Regions from separate parts of the Homo sapiens genome. Here region 2 is linked to region 1. The links are contacts of gene promoters, found by promoter capture Hi-C in blood cells and fetal thymus (Javierre and others, 2016). All regions are on one chromosome and are shown on one strand. The core of a region is centred on a gene start or on the middle of the fragment in contact, and the rest is flanking DNA. Distances in the headings are between cores, read along the strand shown.

The links. Contacts are between HindIII fragments. The CHiCAGO score rates a contact against its expected background, and 5 or more counts as called.
Region 2: the fragment with the promoter of ACOT6 here is called in contact with the fragment with the promoter of PAPLN-AS1 in region 1 in 3 of 17 cell types (erythroblasts, monocytes and total B cells); the score reaches 6.4 in erythroblasts.

What each region holds. Positions count from the first base shown.
Region 1 is chr14:73,243,220-73,250,871 of GRCh38, forward strand. It overlaps PAPLN-AS1 (PAPLN antisense RNA 1), which reads right to left and starts at 2,782. Exons shown (of 2, transcript NR_135248.1): 1 at 2,305-2,782; 2 at 799-2,025. It overlaps PAPLN (papilin, proteoglycan like sulfated glycoprotein), which reads left to right. Exons shown (of 27, transcript NM_001365906.3): 3 at 1,425-1,540; 4 at 2,417-2,477; 5 at 2,854-2,956; 6 at 6,765-6,895. It also overlaps the pseudogene RNU6-419P. RefSeq lists silencers at 2,617-2,886, 5,355-5,434 and enhancers at 3,834-3,903, 4,042-4,543. The HindIII fragment of the contact is 12,638 bases long and covers 1-7,652 here.
Region 2 is chr14:73,607,781-73,615,432 of GRCh38, forward strand. ACOT6 (acyl-CoA thioesterase 6) reads left to right here and starts at 4,737. Exons shown (of 3, transcript NM_001365788.1): 1 at 4,737-5,252. The coding sequence starts at 4,792. It also overlaps a transcript of HEATR4 not described here. RefSeq lists enhancers at 4,848-4,897, 4,915-5,414, 4,948-4,997 and a silencer at 6,073-6,317. The HindIII fragment of the contact is 17,987 bases long and covers 1-7,652 here.

The DNA.
Region 1 (7,652 bases), core at 1,532-4,031:
CTGACCTCAGGTGATCTGCCTGCCTTGGCCTCTCAAAGTGCTGGGATTACAGGCATGAGCCACCGTGCCCGGCTGCTTTTCTGTGTGACCATTGAGCTCTTTCTCTGAAAAGTGGGAATGGTATTTTTCCTTGAGTCTTAAGTGGTGATACCCTAAAAGAAAGTCCCCTTCCAGCAAATGTTTGCATGTACACCATATGCCTCCTGGGAAAATTGTGAAGTTACATCTAATCCCTGTCCAACCCTGTAGGGAATCATCTAGTGTCTCATTTGATTCCCCCAGGTGGGTGGGGGCACAGCCTCGGCAGGGGAGCAGAGGACTGCAGTGAGGCTGGCCGGCTACTGTGCCCACTTCTTCCCCTGTGGTTTCCTCTCTCTGCCTCACTTTTCTTATTCATGCAATGGGGTCTGTCGGGTTGTTGTGAGGATGAAATGAGATAATGTGTGTGTGGCATGTGGATTCCTGATGCCAGCTGCAAGGGGTCCAATCTTTCTGGTGGGAAAGTGTACCTGCTAGGATTATAATCCTGTGTAGAGTCCCAAATAACAGTTCTTCAATAAGACAGACATGATTCCTCTCTCATATAAACACCCAGGGGTCAGAAGTCTGGGGCTATTCTGTTGCACAAAATCCTCCAGGCTCTAGAGTCCCTCTATCTTTGCTTCACTGTTTGAAGCCTCTATTTCCAAGTTACCTCACAGTCTAAAAGGCTGCTCCAACTCCAGCCATCACATCTGCTTCCCAGACAGCCTGAAAGAGTACAGGAGGAAGGAGAAAAGGACAAAGGCTCACGCAGGCTCTCTCTTGAGGAGATTATTTGCGGCAGCTGCCCAACACTTGTATTTACATCTCACTGATGAGAACTAAGTGATGTAGCCACAGTTAGCTGCAGGCAGTCCAGGAAATGTATTTTTTTTTTAAATTTTGGGCAGCCAGGTACCCAGCTGAGTCAAGTTTTCAAGCATTCTCTCACAATGGGAGAAGGAGGGGATGAATATTGGGGTACTCCTGGGAGTCTCGGCCAGATTAGCAGGATCCCCCCACGTTGCTTCCCTTTATTTTCTTTTAGGCCCCCCTCCCCTACATCACGGTTAACCTACAAATGCCTGGACCCTCAAACTGCCCCTGGCTGTAGGGTCCCTCCCCTCCAGTGGCCCCTGAAACTCCAAACTCTTCCCAGCTGCTCCTGCTCCCGCCCTCCAGGCCTGGCTCTCAGCTCCTTATGAGGAAAGCAGGCTAATTCTGAAAAGGAATATGTTTTGGGGTGCCCGGCAGTGTTGCTGAGTCCTAAAGGTGGGCCCTGGAAGGGAGAATCCCAGACTCCTTGATGGGTAGGGGAGGGTTTTAGGCAGAGCATCTTTGGAGGGGCCTCTGGGCTCAGGCTGTGAGTGGGCAATGCTGATGCATGGTCCTGTCTTCTGCAGGCTCCCAAGGTGAGGCGGCAGAGTGACACCTGGGGACCCTGGAGCCAGTGGAGCCCCTGCAGCCGGACCTGTGGAGGGGGTGTCAGCTTCCGGGAGCGCCCCTGCTACTCCCAGAGGTAGGAGAGATGAAAATGGGCCAGCTTGTTAAAGCAGGAGCAGGGGATGCTGCCTTCTGGGTGGTGGGCTAGGTGGTCGTGGCCTAGGCTAGCACTGGCCACATCAGCAGAACCCACCAAGGAGCAGATTCATTCTGGAAGCAGCATCAGTTCAGCGCAGGAAATCAAACCATTTCCCAGGGCCTTCCACTCTGAGCTGGAGCACGCGTGCTGCCTGTTGCCCCTGGTCTCCAGCTCCTGATGCTGCACCGGCCTGCAGTATGGCAGGTGCAGTCAATTTTGCTGGAACTGGTAAATAATCTTCAACCGGCAGTTCCCAATTCCTGTGGTTTCTTTACCGAGTACAGATGTTCCCCACTTCAAGCGATTTATTAAATGCTTGCTGTGTGTGCTGCACTCCGGCAGGGTCAGTGGAGAAGGTGGGGCACAGAAGGAGTAGTGAGGTGCCTCTGTCCCGGTTTGTATAGGGGTTGTTCCTGAGAACCCTATGTGAGGAGGAATGAGAGACCAGGAATGATCCTAAGAGCCTTATACTGATGTCCTGCTTAGATCGCAGGATGGCTGTGCCAAGCGGGTGGGTATTATATCTCATGCACCTCGGGTCTTCTCTGGGAATCTGCCTAAGATGCAGTGGAGTGGTCCCGCCTTAAATCCAAACTATAGGGTGGGTAGGGCTCTGAGTCCCGCTTCTCTGGAGTACCAACATGGGTCGCTCACTCCCACCTGGGGGATTTACGGGGTGGGGTCGGGGGACACCCTCTCACCTTGCTGCTCCCACTGGAGAGTCCCGCAGAAGTTGGGGCCTGCAGAGAGCCCCAGAACGGGGGCAGGGACGTTGGGTCTCGGTCAGGTCTTCCCGGTGCTCTGGTCCCGCAGGAGAGATGGAGGCTCCAGCTGCGTGGGCCCCGCCCGGAGCCACCGCTCTTGTCGCACGGAGGTAAAGCTCACGGGGCGCGGGCGAAGGCACCAGCTTCCCCAGCCCCTCCTGGCCGATTTCCCCATTGGGATGCCCGCTCCTGGCCGCGGGCTGCTGGGTTGGCCCAGCCTGGGGTCCTCCCGCCAATCCACAGCAGGGCTGCGTGGGGGCCCCTTCCTCACCCTGCTCCCGGGGACTGGCCTTGCCCTCCACAGCCTAGAGCACCATGGAGGGGCACGCACAGGAGTTCGGGGGTCCGGGGGGCGGACTCCACCTCCGGCGGCTCCGATGGGGCAGGCAAGGGAGACTCCTGGGCTCCCTGGGCTCGGGCGGGGCGGGAGGTGGGCGGACCTCGGACTCCGCCCTCCTGGATCCCGACTTCCCCTCCGCCCCGCAGAGCTGCCCCGACGGCGCCCGGGACTTCCGGGCCGAGCAGTGCGCGGAGTTCGACGGAGCGGAGTTCCAGGGGCGGCGGTATCGGTGGCTGCCCTACTACAGCGGTGAGCGCGGCCGGGACTCGCTCTCTCGGGGCCTCTTGTATACCTACGTTGATGCCACAGTTCCTATTGCCGTATTATAGAGGCGTTGTCATATATATATATATTAGAGACAGTCTCACTGTGTTGCCCAGGCTGGTCTTGAACTCCTGGGCTCAAGGGATCCGCCGGCAGCGACCTCCCAGAGTGCTGGGATTGCAGGCGTGAGCCACTGTACCCGACCAATTTTTTTTTTTTTTTTTTTTTTTTTTTTTGGGTGGGCGCGGGGGCTCGCAATGTACAGGAAATCTTGTAGACCACAGGACCCACCTTTGGGGAGGAGAGGGTCTGCAGAGGTCCCTCGAGAGAGAGCAAGAGGTCTCTCTTTTTCTTTATCTTTTTTTCTTTTCTTTCTCTCTCGTTCTCTCTCGCTTGCTCTTTTTTCTCTCTTCCTTTCCTTTCCTTTTTTTCTTTTCCTTTTTCTTTCTTTCTTTTTTTTTTTTTTTTGAGACAGGATCTTGCCCAGGCTTGAGTGCAGCAGTGTCATGTCAGCTGGGCAGCATGTACCTCCCAAGCTCAATCAATCCTTCCACCTCAGCCTCCCAAATAATTTTTAAAGTAAATATGGAATGCTTCATGAATTTGCATGCCATACCAGCTAAGGGGGCAGGGGCTGTGCTAATCTCTGTATCGTTCCAATTTTAGTATATGTGCTGCCAGAGCCAGCATTTGTCAAATACCCCATCGATCAACCCATAATGAATCAATCACCAGTACCCCTGCTCCCCCCAGCACATGCCCGTGGCAACACCATGGCAGCCATTTTGAGGTCTTTCCATCCTTTCTCCCCTTATGTATGTATATTTTCAAACGAAGCTATGGTGTGTCTATACCATTTTGAGCCCTGTTTTTGCTCAGTCTGCTATGGGAAGCGTTCCTCCCGTCGCACAGAGACGGAGATGGGGAACCCCGGGAGCGGTAGCAATGGTGCCCCACGGTCATCCTGCAGGAGGGGCTGGAAGGGGCTTGGTACACCAAGACTTCATTTATCAAGGATCTGGGGGCCAGAGGAGATGGTCTGTGCACCTCTGAGGAGGGTATAAGTCATTAATTTTTAGAGAAATACAGTTCAGGGAAAAAACACCCAGGTAAGCACCAACATGTATGTCATTAAGCATTTTAGATGAATCAGAAGATTCCTCAAGACAAGTCTTCTGAGTGTTCGTTTTCCCTGCTTGCGGCAAATGACCTCTGGAGACCCTGTGGCACTCTAGATTCCAGATCAAGGAGCACTTATATTCTCTCTGTGTGTGTGTGGTGGGGATCGTGGCTGTGGGCATGGCCCAGTGGGAGTCTCATATCCTGTGTATGTGTGTGTGTGTGTTGTGGGGATCGTGGCTGTGGGCATGGCGCAGTGGGAGTCTCATGTCCTCTGTGCGTGTGTGTGTGTGTTGTGCCGATCGTGGCAGTGGGTGTGGCCCAGTGGGAGTCTCTTATCCTGTGTGTGTGTGCGTGTGTGTGTGTGTGTGTTGTGGGGATCGTGGCTGTGGGCATGGCCCAGTGGGAGTCTCATGTCCTCTGTGCGTGTGTGTGTGTGTTGTGCCGATAGTGGCAGTGGGCGTGGCCCAGTGGGAGTCTCTTATCCCGTGTGTGTGTGTGTGTGTGTGTGTGTGTGTGTGTGTGTGTGTGGTGGCGATCGTGGCTGTGGGCGTGGCCCAGTGGGAGTCTCATATCCTCCGTGTGTGTGTGTGTGTGTGTGTGTGTGTGTGTGTGTGTGTGTGTGTTGTGGGGACCGTGGCTGTGGGCATGGCCCACTGGGAGTCTCATATCCTCTGTGTGTGTGTGTGTGTGTGTGTGTGTGTGTGTGTGTGTGTGTGTTGGGATTGTGGCTGTGGGTGTGGCCCAGTGGGAGTCTCATATCCTCTGTGTGTGTGTGTGTGTGTGTGTGTGTGTGTGCGCGTGTGTGTGTTGTGGGGATCGTGGCTGTGGGCATGGCCCAGTGGGAGTCTCATATCCTCTGTGTGTGTGTGTGTGTGTCTGTGTGTGTTGTGGGGATTGTGGCTGTGGGCATGGCCCAGTGGGAGTCTCATATCCTCTATGTGTGTGTGTGTGTGTGTGTGTGTTGTGGGGATTGTGGCTGTGGGCGTGACCCAGTGGGACTCTAGCTTTCAGAATTCCCCCTGGATCCTGAAGTGGACACATGTCAAAAATAATTTGATTATAGTCACATGATAGAAAAATTGGAACACAGGGGAAAGTCTAAAAAGAGAGTAGAGGGATACCTTCCATGGTATGGAGATGATTATAATCCTGTTTGTACTTTTGGGTTGTTTTAAAATGTGTATATATTTAGATAAATATAAAAATTAAGGTAGGGTACAGTGGCTCATGCCCGTAATCCCAGCACTTTGGGAGGCTGAGGCAGGAGGATCACTTGAGTCCAGGAATTTGAGACAAGCCTGGGCAATGTGTGAAACCCCATCTCTACCAAAAATACGAAGATTAGCCAGGCATACAAAGATTAGCTAGGCATGGTTGCACACCCATGTAGTCCCAGCTATTCGAGAAGCTGAGGTGGGAGGATCACTTGAGCCCAGGAAGTTGAGGCTGCAGTGAGTCAAGATCACACCACTGCACTCCAGCCCGGACGACAGAGTGAGATCTTGTCTCCAAAAGAAGAAAAAAAAATTAAAACCAGGCCAGGTACAGTGGCTCCTGCTTGTAATCCTGGTGCTTTGGAAGGCTGAGGCAGGAGGATCATTTGAGCCCAGGAGTTTGAAACCAGCCTGGGTATCGTAGTGAGACCCTGTCTCTACAAAAAATAAAAAAATTAGCTGGGTATGATGGCATGTGCCTATAGTCCCAACTATTCGAGAGACTGAGGCTGGAGGACCACTTGAGTCTCGGAGGTAGAGGCTGCTGTGAGCTTTGATCGTGCCTCTGCATTCCAGCCTGGGAGACAGAGTGAGATCCCATCTGAAAAACATTAAAACCAGAAAAAAGTTATCCTCATCCTGCCCCTTTCACAAGATCACTGTTAGCATTTCATTTTAGCCCCTTTCACATTATTCTCTCCATATATGCTTACATATTTGTAATTATTGCATAGTAATCACCATTTTGCATTCTGTGTTTTAAGCATCTTCCCACACCATATAGTCTTCACAATCATCATTTGTAACTGCATAGTCAGCATGTGTAATATTCCATTGATAATTTATTTAAAGAGTAGCCTGTTATGGCCATGCACAGTGGTTTACACCTGTAATCCCAGCACTTTGGGAGGCTGAGGCAGGTGGATCACCTGAGGTCAGGAGTTCGAGACCAGCCTGCCCAACATGGTGAAACCCCATCTCTACTAAAAGTACAAAACTTAGCCGGGTGTGGTGGCGCGTGCCTGTAGTCCCGGCTACTAGGGGGGCTGAGGCAGGAGAATTGCTTAAACTAGGGAGGCGGAGGTTGCAGTGAGTCGAGATCGTGCCACTGCACTCCAGCCTGGGCAACAAGAGCGAGACTCCACCTCAAAAAAAAAAAAAAAAAAAAAGTAGCCTGTTGTAACCACCTCAGCTGTGGTAAATAATGCTGAGGTAGACTTCTTTAAGTGTTTCACTTTTTCCTGATTCTGGGATTTTTCTTCGACTTGATCCTTAGAGGTGCAACAGATTCATGGAGACGGTCCCTTCTCCTGGGGATGGGGCGGGGATCTGTGCTCTGCGGGGCCTGCTGCAGGGCTTTCTGACCCATGCTTTCCTGTTGCTAGGGTAAGCCTTGGGTCTTGGGGAGGGGCATCATCAACCTCAGGATCTCAGTCTTGCCTTCCTGCCCACCCCAGCCCCAAACAAGTGTGAACTGAACTGCATTCCCAAGGGGGAGAACTTCTACTACAAGCACAGGGAGGCTGTGGTTGATGGGACGCCCTGCGAGCCTGGCAAGAGGGATGTCTGTGTGGATGGCAGCTGCCGGGTGAGTGGTGCCCCAGCCCCTCCCTGCCTCCGGGCTGCCTGGGGGCTCAGTGCGGGTGTTTCCCTGTCCATCACCCATAGGCCCAGGTAGCTGCCATGAGCTTGGTGTCTTCTCAAGTTACCAGGACACCAAGCCCAGCTCCTAGGGTACCTTGCAGGCATCACAGATGCCCTATGGCCCCTCACCTTCATCCTTGGAGAACGCTAGCCCTACAATAAGAGAAACCCTCTGGGTGGCAGAAATCCGGCTAAAACCGACTTCAGAAAAACAAACAGCAGGGACAGCCGCAGGCGCATGAATGAGGTGCCACTCGGCTTTCCTCTCCTTGGGTCCAGCATCAGGATCTGGCCCATTCTTCCCAGGAGGTGTGGAGGTGGCCGCCAGCTGCTCCGACCTTCTGCTCCCTAGAAAGGGAATTCCCAGGGAAAGGGGGCCTCATTCCCAGGAGTTCTAGCCACCGGGGGTTGTCTCTGATTCGTCTTGGTTTGGGACTTACCCTGAACCACTCCAACCTCCCCAAACCCACATTTGGGGAGCTCCGTTCAAACTCTGCGGGAGAGAGGTGGCCCCTCAAGGAAAACAGGGCATTATTACCAGAAGGGGAGATGGGAGCTGAGCAGACAGAGAAGTGGATTGTCAGCCACAGGCCAGTCCCCTGGCTGGTGGCTGAATCACTCCCGACCACCCTATCCTGCCTGGGCTGCGTGGGTGCTGGGGTTAGGATGCGACGGGGCCCAAGGCCTGATGTGGCCATGAT
Region 2 (7,652 bases), core at 3,487-5,986, 370 kb after region 1:
GCCTGGCTAATTTTTGTATTATTAGTAGAGATGGGGTTTCACCATGTTTGCCAGGCTGGTCTCGAACTCCTGAACTCAGGTGATCCACCCACCTCGGCCTCCCAAAGTGCTGGGATTATAGGCATGAGCCACCATGCCCAGCGGGGTTTTCTTTTTTCTTTTGAGATAGAGTCTTGCTCTGTTGCCCAGGCTGAAGTACAGTGGTGCAATCTTGACTCACTGCAAGCTCCGCCTCCTGGGTTCAAGCGATTCGCCTGCCTCAGCCTCCCGAGTAGCTGGGATTACAGGCGCCTGCCACTGTGCCTGCCTAATTTTTGTACTTTTAGTAGAGATGGGGTTTCACCATCTTGGCCAGGCTGATCTTAACCTCCTGACCTTGTGACCCACCTGCCTTGGCCTCCCAAAGTGCTGGGATTACAGGCATGAGCCACTGTGCCCCGCCAGGGTTTTTCTTTTCTATAGCATAGTCAGTCTGCAAATTTTCCAAACTTTTATGCTCTGCTTCCTCTTGAACGCTTTGCTGCTTACATATTTCTTCTGCCAGTTACCCTAAATCATCTCTTTCAAGTTCAAACTTCCACAGATCTCTGGGGCAGGGGCAAAATGCCACCAGCCTCTTTGCATAGCAAGAGTGACCTTTACTTCAGTTCCCAACAAGTTCCCCATCTCCATCTGAGACCACCTCAGCCTGGACTTCATTGTTCATATCACTATCAGCATTTTGGTGAAAGCCATTTAATGAGCCTCTAGGAAGTTCCAAACTTTCTCACATCTTTCTGTCTTCTGAGCCCTCCAAGTCTCTAGGCAGTTCTAAACTTTCCCACGCTTTCCTGTCTTCTTCTGAGCCCTCTAAACGGTGCCAACTGCTGCCTGTTACCCAGTTCCAAAGTCGCTTCCACATTTTTGGGTATCTTTACAGCAGTGCCCCACTCTCTGTGATACTAACTTACTGTATTAGTCTGTTCTCACACTGCTAATAAAGACCTACCTGAGATGGGATAATTTACGAAGGAAAGAGATTTAATTGACTCACAGTTCAGCATGGCTGAGGAGGCCTCAGGAAACTTACAATCATGGCAGAAGGGGAAGCAAACATGTCCTTCACATGGCGGCAACAAAAAGTGCTGAGCAAAAGGGGGAAAGCCTTTATAAAACCATCAGATCGCATGAGAACTCACTCACTATCACCAGAACAGCATGAGACTAACCACCCCCATGATTCAATTTCCTCCCACCAGGTCCCTCCCAGGACATATGGGGATTATGGGAACTATAATTCAAGATGAGATTTGGGTGGGGACACAGCCAAACCATATCAGGTGTAATGCTAACCCTCTGTGTACAGGTTTTGTGAACGATATTGATTGTATGGGGGAGACTGAGCTCATGTCACTATGCCATCAATGAGAATTGGCTGGTGAATACCAATCCTCCATAGCCATGACTGGGTTGCTGAATAAAATGATGCAGTGTGCATCCAAAAGCTGCCTCTTCCTCTGTGGGTGATCTGGGAGTGAGCCAAACATGGGATGGACAATGTCATACCTGGAAAGCTGGCAGATGATGGGATCCTGGACATTGGGCATGCTGGGGGTGCTCCTGCATATCACCCCTGGGTACAAGAAACATCATTGGGCCAGTAGTCTAAAAGTATGCACCATGCTTATTAGGAACCTGCCAGGTCGTGGCTGATTCTAGGTTTAGGTCCTCTATGAAATTTTTGGTACCATATATAGGAGTCAGTGCTCATGAAAAAAATGATAAGAAAACTGTGCCTGATATTGCTGCTTCCAGTGCCACTGCCTTGGCAGCACAGGGACATCCTTCAACTCCCTTGGGAAGGTTGTTCTATTATTTATTTTATTTTATTTTATTTTTGAGACAGAATCTCGCTCTGTTACCCAGGCTGGAATGCAGTGGTGCGATCTCGGCTCACCACAACCTCTGCCTCCCGGGTTCAAGCAATTCTCCTGCCTCAGCCTCCCGAGTAGCTGGGACTACAGGCACGCACCACCATGCCTGGCTAATTTTTGTATTTTTAGTAGAGACGGGGTTTCACCATGTTGGCCAGACTGGTCTCAAACTCCTGACCTCGTGATCCACCCGCCTCAGCCTCCCAAAGTGCTGAGATTACAGGCATGAGCCACCGCGCCTGGCCAGGTTGTTTTAAACAACAGAATTCCTCTACCCTTTTTTTTTTTAGACTAATTGGGAGGAGTGTGTGCCACTGCCAACACCTCCTGGTGTACCTGGATAAACACCTCAGGCATGGTGGAGACATAGGTAGAGGATCTGGAAGCAGGCCTACTGGTTGCAGTCAGAGTGGCTACCTAAAGAATCTTTCTTGGACCTCAAAACTTCTTGCCTGGATCACTAGGACTTGGGGGTAGGCCACAGCTCCAAGCAAGCCTGATCATCCTGCTTATTATAGTAGTCTCCTGGGCCTAATGCAATATATTCCGGCCATGGCTTAACAATGTTGCACCGAGATTGTTTCAGTCAAGTGTCGCTTTTTTTTTTTTTTCTTTTAGAGGGAGTCTTGCTCTGTCGCTCAGGCTGGAGAGCAGTGGCGAGATCTCGGCTCACTGCAATCACCACCTCCCGGGTTCAAGCAATTCTCCTGCCGCCGCCTTCTGAATAGCTGGGATTACAGGCGCGTGCTGCCACGTTCAGCTAATTTTTGTATTTTTAGTAGAGACAGGGTTTCACCATGTTGGCCAGGCTGGTCTCAAACTCCTGACCCCAAGTCATCCGCCCCCCTCGGCCTCCCAAAGTGCTGGGATTACAGGCATTAGCCACCGTGCCCGACCAAGGTGCCATATTAATATGATCAGACAAACCTCTGCCTCCAGATCCTGGGGGTCTGGAGGGCATATGAAATGTACTAGGTTTACTAAAGGAGGTATCTGGGTTGGGGATGGACTGCAGGGCAGTTCTCTGGTTGGCCTTGGACTGACTCAGTTCTCCCCTCTTTCTCACTAGTAGTTCTCAAGCATAGAACGTGCTGGGAATGTAACATCCTGAGAGAGGGACGGACTGGCTGGAATAGCCCTGGCTCTATTCCAGCCCCTCCCTACAAACAGGATGTCTTTCAATGCTTTAACCCAGCAGTCACATGACCCCAGAGTACAAAACTCAGGGCAGCTGCAGTGCAAGTGGGGCACACACACATGAGATTCCATCACCCAGGCAGCATTCCTGAGCCTTGGGGGACTGGTTTCCAATGATTCTTAGGCTTCTGTCATTCTTTGCTGCCTATCTGTAAGTAATAAATCCAGTTCATGTAAATTGTTGTATTAAATATATGAATGTGTTTTCTCACTGGACTCAGACAAGTTGGTAACCAGCATACAGTGAACTTGCTTCATAGAGTCTAATACCTTTTTGTTCAGTTTATACATGTTTACTGAGCTGGGCATCACTATATGCTCTTCTTCCTTCTCCACCCTGCTATGTTCCCAGCTAGGTTGAGCTGTGTGGTTGGGTTTGGCCAAAGAGAGGCATTAGCAAGATACTGAAAAACAAGAGGAGAGTCAAGGGACTTATAGTCTCCTCCTTCCTGCCACAAACCATAGGTTCCTTCTAAAAAAGGTACAACTCCTATCAGACTGCCCCCTTCCCTTGAACCTTCAGATTCAGGGTTCTACACCGAATCTTGTTTCATTGTTTTTGTTTTTAAATCTTGCCCATGCCTTTGTAGATAGTACCTTTATAAAACTCTCCTCAATTACACAGGCTGAGAGTGCCACTTGCTTACTGCCAGAACTCTGTATGCATACAACCCAAAATGGACTCTGCCAGTGATTAGATTTGTGAGGTAAGAAACAAAACAAAACTTTCACTGGGTACTAACCTACAGGTGTGTCAGTGTAGTGTTTTTACACATTAGCCCATTTAATGGTCACAATAAGCCTTTTCAGATAAGAAAACTGAATTTAGAGGGTTATGTTTCTTGCTAAAGATCACCAGGTATTAATATTAAGGATCAGGGTCAGACCAGAACTCGGCTAGGTCTGCCTCCCTAAACATCTGCTTTGCTCCAGGTACCATTAGCCCTGGAAAAAAGGCTTGGTAAGGGACTGAGGGGTAAAGGACGGATTACGACCATGTTTCTCCAAGGGGTCACCTGAGTACAATCACCTGGGATGCTTTTTCAAAATCTAGATTCTTGGACTGTATCTCTCTCAATCCTTTAGCTCTCAGTGGTTTTTGTGCCTCTATTTCGACACTCACCACATTGGATTGCAGGAATAGTCATTAACTCTTTTTTTTTTTTTTTAGACGGAGTTTTGCCCTTGTTGCCTAGGCTGGAGTACAATGGTGCAATCTTGGCTCAATGCAACCTCTGCCTCCTGGGTTCAAGCAATTCTTCTGCCTCAGCCTCCCAAGTAGCCGGGATTACAGGCATGCGCCACCACACCTGGCTATTTTGTATTTTCAGTAGAGATGAGGTTTCACTCTGTTGGTCAGGCTGGTCTTGAACTCCTAACCTCAGGTGTGATCCACCCACCTCGGCCTCCCAAAGTTCTAGGATCACAGGCGTGATCCACCGCCCCCGGCCGGATTGGTCATTAACTCTTATTTCAGCAGATACTCTTTCATTTGGGACACTGGTGTATTTGCACAAATTCTAGGCGCCCCACGCAGCGGCCTGGAGCCTGTCCCCAAGTCCAACCAATGGGAGTAGTGTTAAGGGCTCCGCCCTCGACTACTTTCCAGCGCTCGGCAAAGCCGCCAGGCCCGCCCACTGACTCCGCGGAGCTGGGTCGCCCCTGTTCTACCCAGATTGGGATGGCAGCGACGCTGATCCTGGAGCCCGCGGGCCGCTGCTGCTGGGACGAGCCGCTGCGCATCGCAGTGCGCGGCCTGGCCCCGGAGCAGCCAGTCACGCTGCGCACGTCCCTGCGCGACGAAGAGGGCGCGCTCTTCCGGGCCCACGCGCGCTACCGTGCCGACGCCCGCGACGAGCTGGACCTGGAGCGCGCGCCCGCGCTGGGAGGCAGCTTCGCGGGGCTCCAGCCCATGGGGCTGCTGTGGGCGTTGGAGCCCGAGAAAGCCTTGGTGCGGCTGGTGAAGCGCGACGTGCGGACGCCCTTCGCCGTGGAGCTGGAAGTGCTGGACGGCCACGACACCGAGCCCGGGCGGCTGCTGTGCCTGGCGCAGAACAAGCGCGACTTTCTCCGGCCGGGGGTGCGGCGCGAGCCGGTGCGCGCGGGCCCGGTGCGCGCCGCGCTCTTCCTGCCGCCGGATGAGTAGTCTGCCCAGAATTTGGTCGAGCTCTGCGACCCCCACCGGCCCCTTTCCTGTCCTGGGAATCGCGTGATTGTGGAACATCCCTGAACTTGTTCCTTCGCTCCAGAGTCTGTCATGGATTCTGAGTCTGGGCGTCCGCTGTTGCCCAGGCTGGAGTGCCGTGGCTGGATCGTAGCTCACACTGCAGCCTCGAACTCCTGGGCTCAAGTCCTCTCGCCTCAGCCTCCTGAGTAGCTACTCCAGTCTTTCCTTTTTAAGTTTCACGTCCCTCCCTGGAGGCACCACCACTTTAGCTATGTGCTGAATAGTGCATTCAACTTATTATATATTTATTGAGAGCCACTATGTGCCAGCCATGTGGTTTTGTTTGAATACGATATGGGCAAAACCTTAAGCTGATGTGCAAGAAGGATTTTTGCCTCCTTTCACATCAAACTTCCAAAGAAGCTAAAATCCACAGTATTGGCAATGCCCTTTAATTGTTTAAAAACACACACAAAACTGCCTGACAGTCCTCTCCCTTCTATCATAAACATGCTGTACGTGGTTCTCAACCTGCAATGATTAGCCGCCCTCCCTGGGGGAAATTTGGCAATATCTGGAGACATTTGTGGTTGTCATATCTGAAGGGAGAGGTGCTATTGGCATCTAGCAGGCAGAGGCCAGAGATGCTGCTAAACATTCCACAATGCACAGGACAACCACCAGAACAAAGAATTATCTTGCTGAAAATGTCTGTACTACTGAGGTTGAGGAACCCTAGTCTAAGTAAACACAGGATGTTTGCTAGGTAAAGGTAGCCCAGAAAGAAGACTCCTGATTAATCCCTTCTAACTAAATTCCTGACTTAAACCTCTACCATATAAAAATGATGAGCCGGGCACAGTGGCTCAGGCCTGTAATCCCAGCACTTTGGGAGGCTGAGGTGGGCAGATCACTTGAGCCCAGGAGTTCAAGACCAGCCTGGGCAACATGGTGAAACTCTGTCTCTACAAAAAAAAAAAAAAAAAAAAAAAAATTAGGCAGGCATGGTGGTGCATGCCTGTAGTCCCAGCTGCTTGGGAGGCTGAGGTGGGAGGATTGTTTGATATCAGGAAGTAGAGGTTGCAGTGAGCTGAGATCACGCCACTGCATTCCAGCCTGGACAACAGAGTGAAACCCTGCCTCAAACAACAACAACAACAACAAATTCTAGAGTTGCAACAGCACATAGAATCCTTAAACCGAATTCTGTGATTATTCTCCAAAACAAGAAAACTTGCTTTATTTTTACAGCTCTTCAGCAATTCTTAGCCTTAACTCGTGGCTGCCCACTGTACTGTGAATTCCTGGGGCTGGAATTGGGTCTTACAGATTTCTAAATATCCATGTTCCTAGAGGCTTTCGCAAGGATATAGTAGGAGCTCAATAAATCATACTGACTGGGCCAGGCGCAGTGGCTCACACCTGTAATCCTAGCACTTTGGGAGGCTGAGGTGGGTGGATCACTTGAGGCCAGGAGTTCAAGACTAGCCTGGCCAACATGGCAAAACCCTACCTCTACTAATTATATAATACAAAAAAATTAGCCAGGCATAGTGGCTCACACATGTAGTCCCAGCTACTAGGGAGGCTGAGGTGGGAGAATCGCTTGAACCCGGGAGGCTGAGGTTGCAGTGAGCCAAGATTGCGCCACTACACTTCAGCCTGGGCGACAGAGCGAGACCCTGTCTCAAAAAAAAAAAAAAAAAAATCACACTGACTAAGAATCAACTAAAACCTTTCATTAAAAACAAACAAGGAGCCGGGCGCAGTGGCTCACGCCTGTAATCCCAGCACTTTGGGAGGCCGAGGCAGGTGGATCACCTGAGGTCAGGAGTTCGAGACCAGCCTGACCAACATGGTGAAACCCCGTCTCTACTAAAAATACAAAAGTTAGCCGGGCATGGTGGTGGGTGCCTGTAATCTCAGGAGGCTGAGGCAGGAGAATCTCTTGAACCCAGGGGGCAGAGGTTGCAGTGAGCCAAGATCGCACCGTTGCACTCCAGCCTGGAGGACAGAGCAAGACTCCATCTCAAAAAAAAAAACAAGGCGGCCAGGCGCGGTGGCTCACGCCTCTAATCCCGGCACTTTGGGAGGCCAAGGTGGGTGGATCACGAGGTCAGGAGTTCAAGACCAGCCTGGCCAAGATGGTGAAACCCTGTCTCTACTAAAAATACAAAAAATTAGCCGGGCATGGTGGCGGGCGCCTGTAATCCCAGCTACTCAGGAGGCTGAGGCAGGAGAATTGCTTGAACCCGGCAGGTGGAGGTTGCAGTGAGCCAAAATCACACCACATCACTCCAGCCTGGGCAACAGAGAGAGACTCTGTCTGATAAAAAAAAAAAAAAAAAAACAAAAAACAAAAAAAACCAGCAACA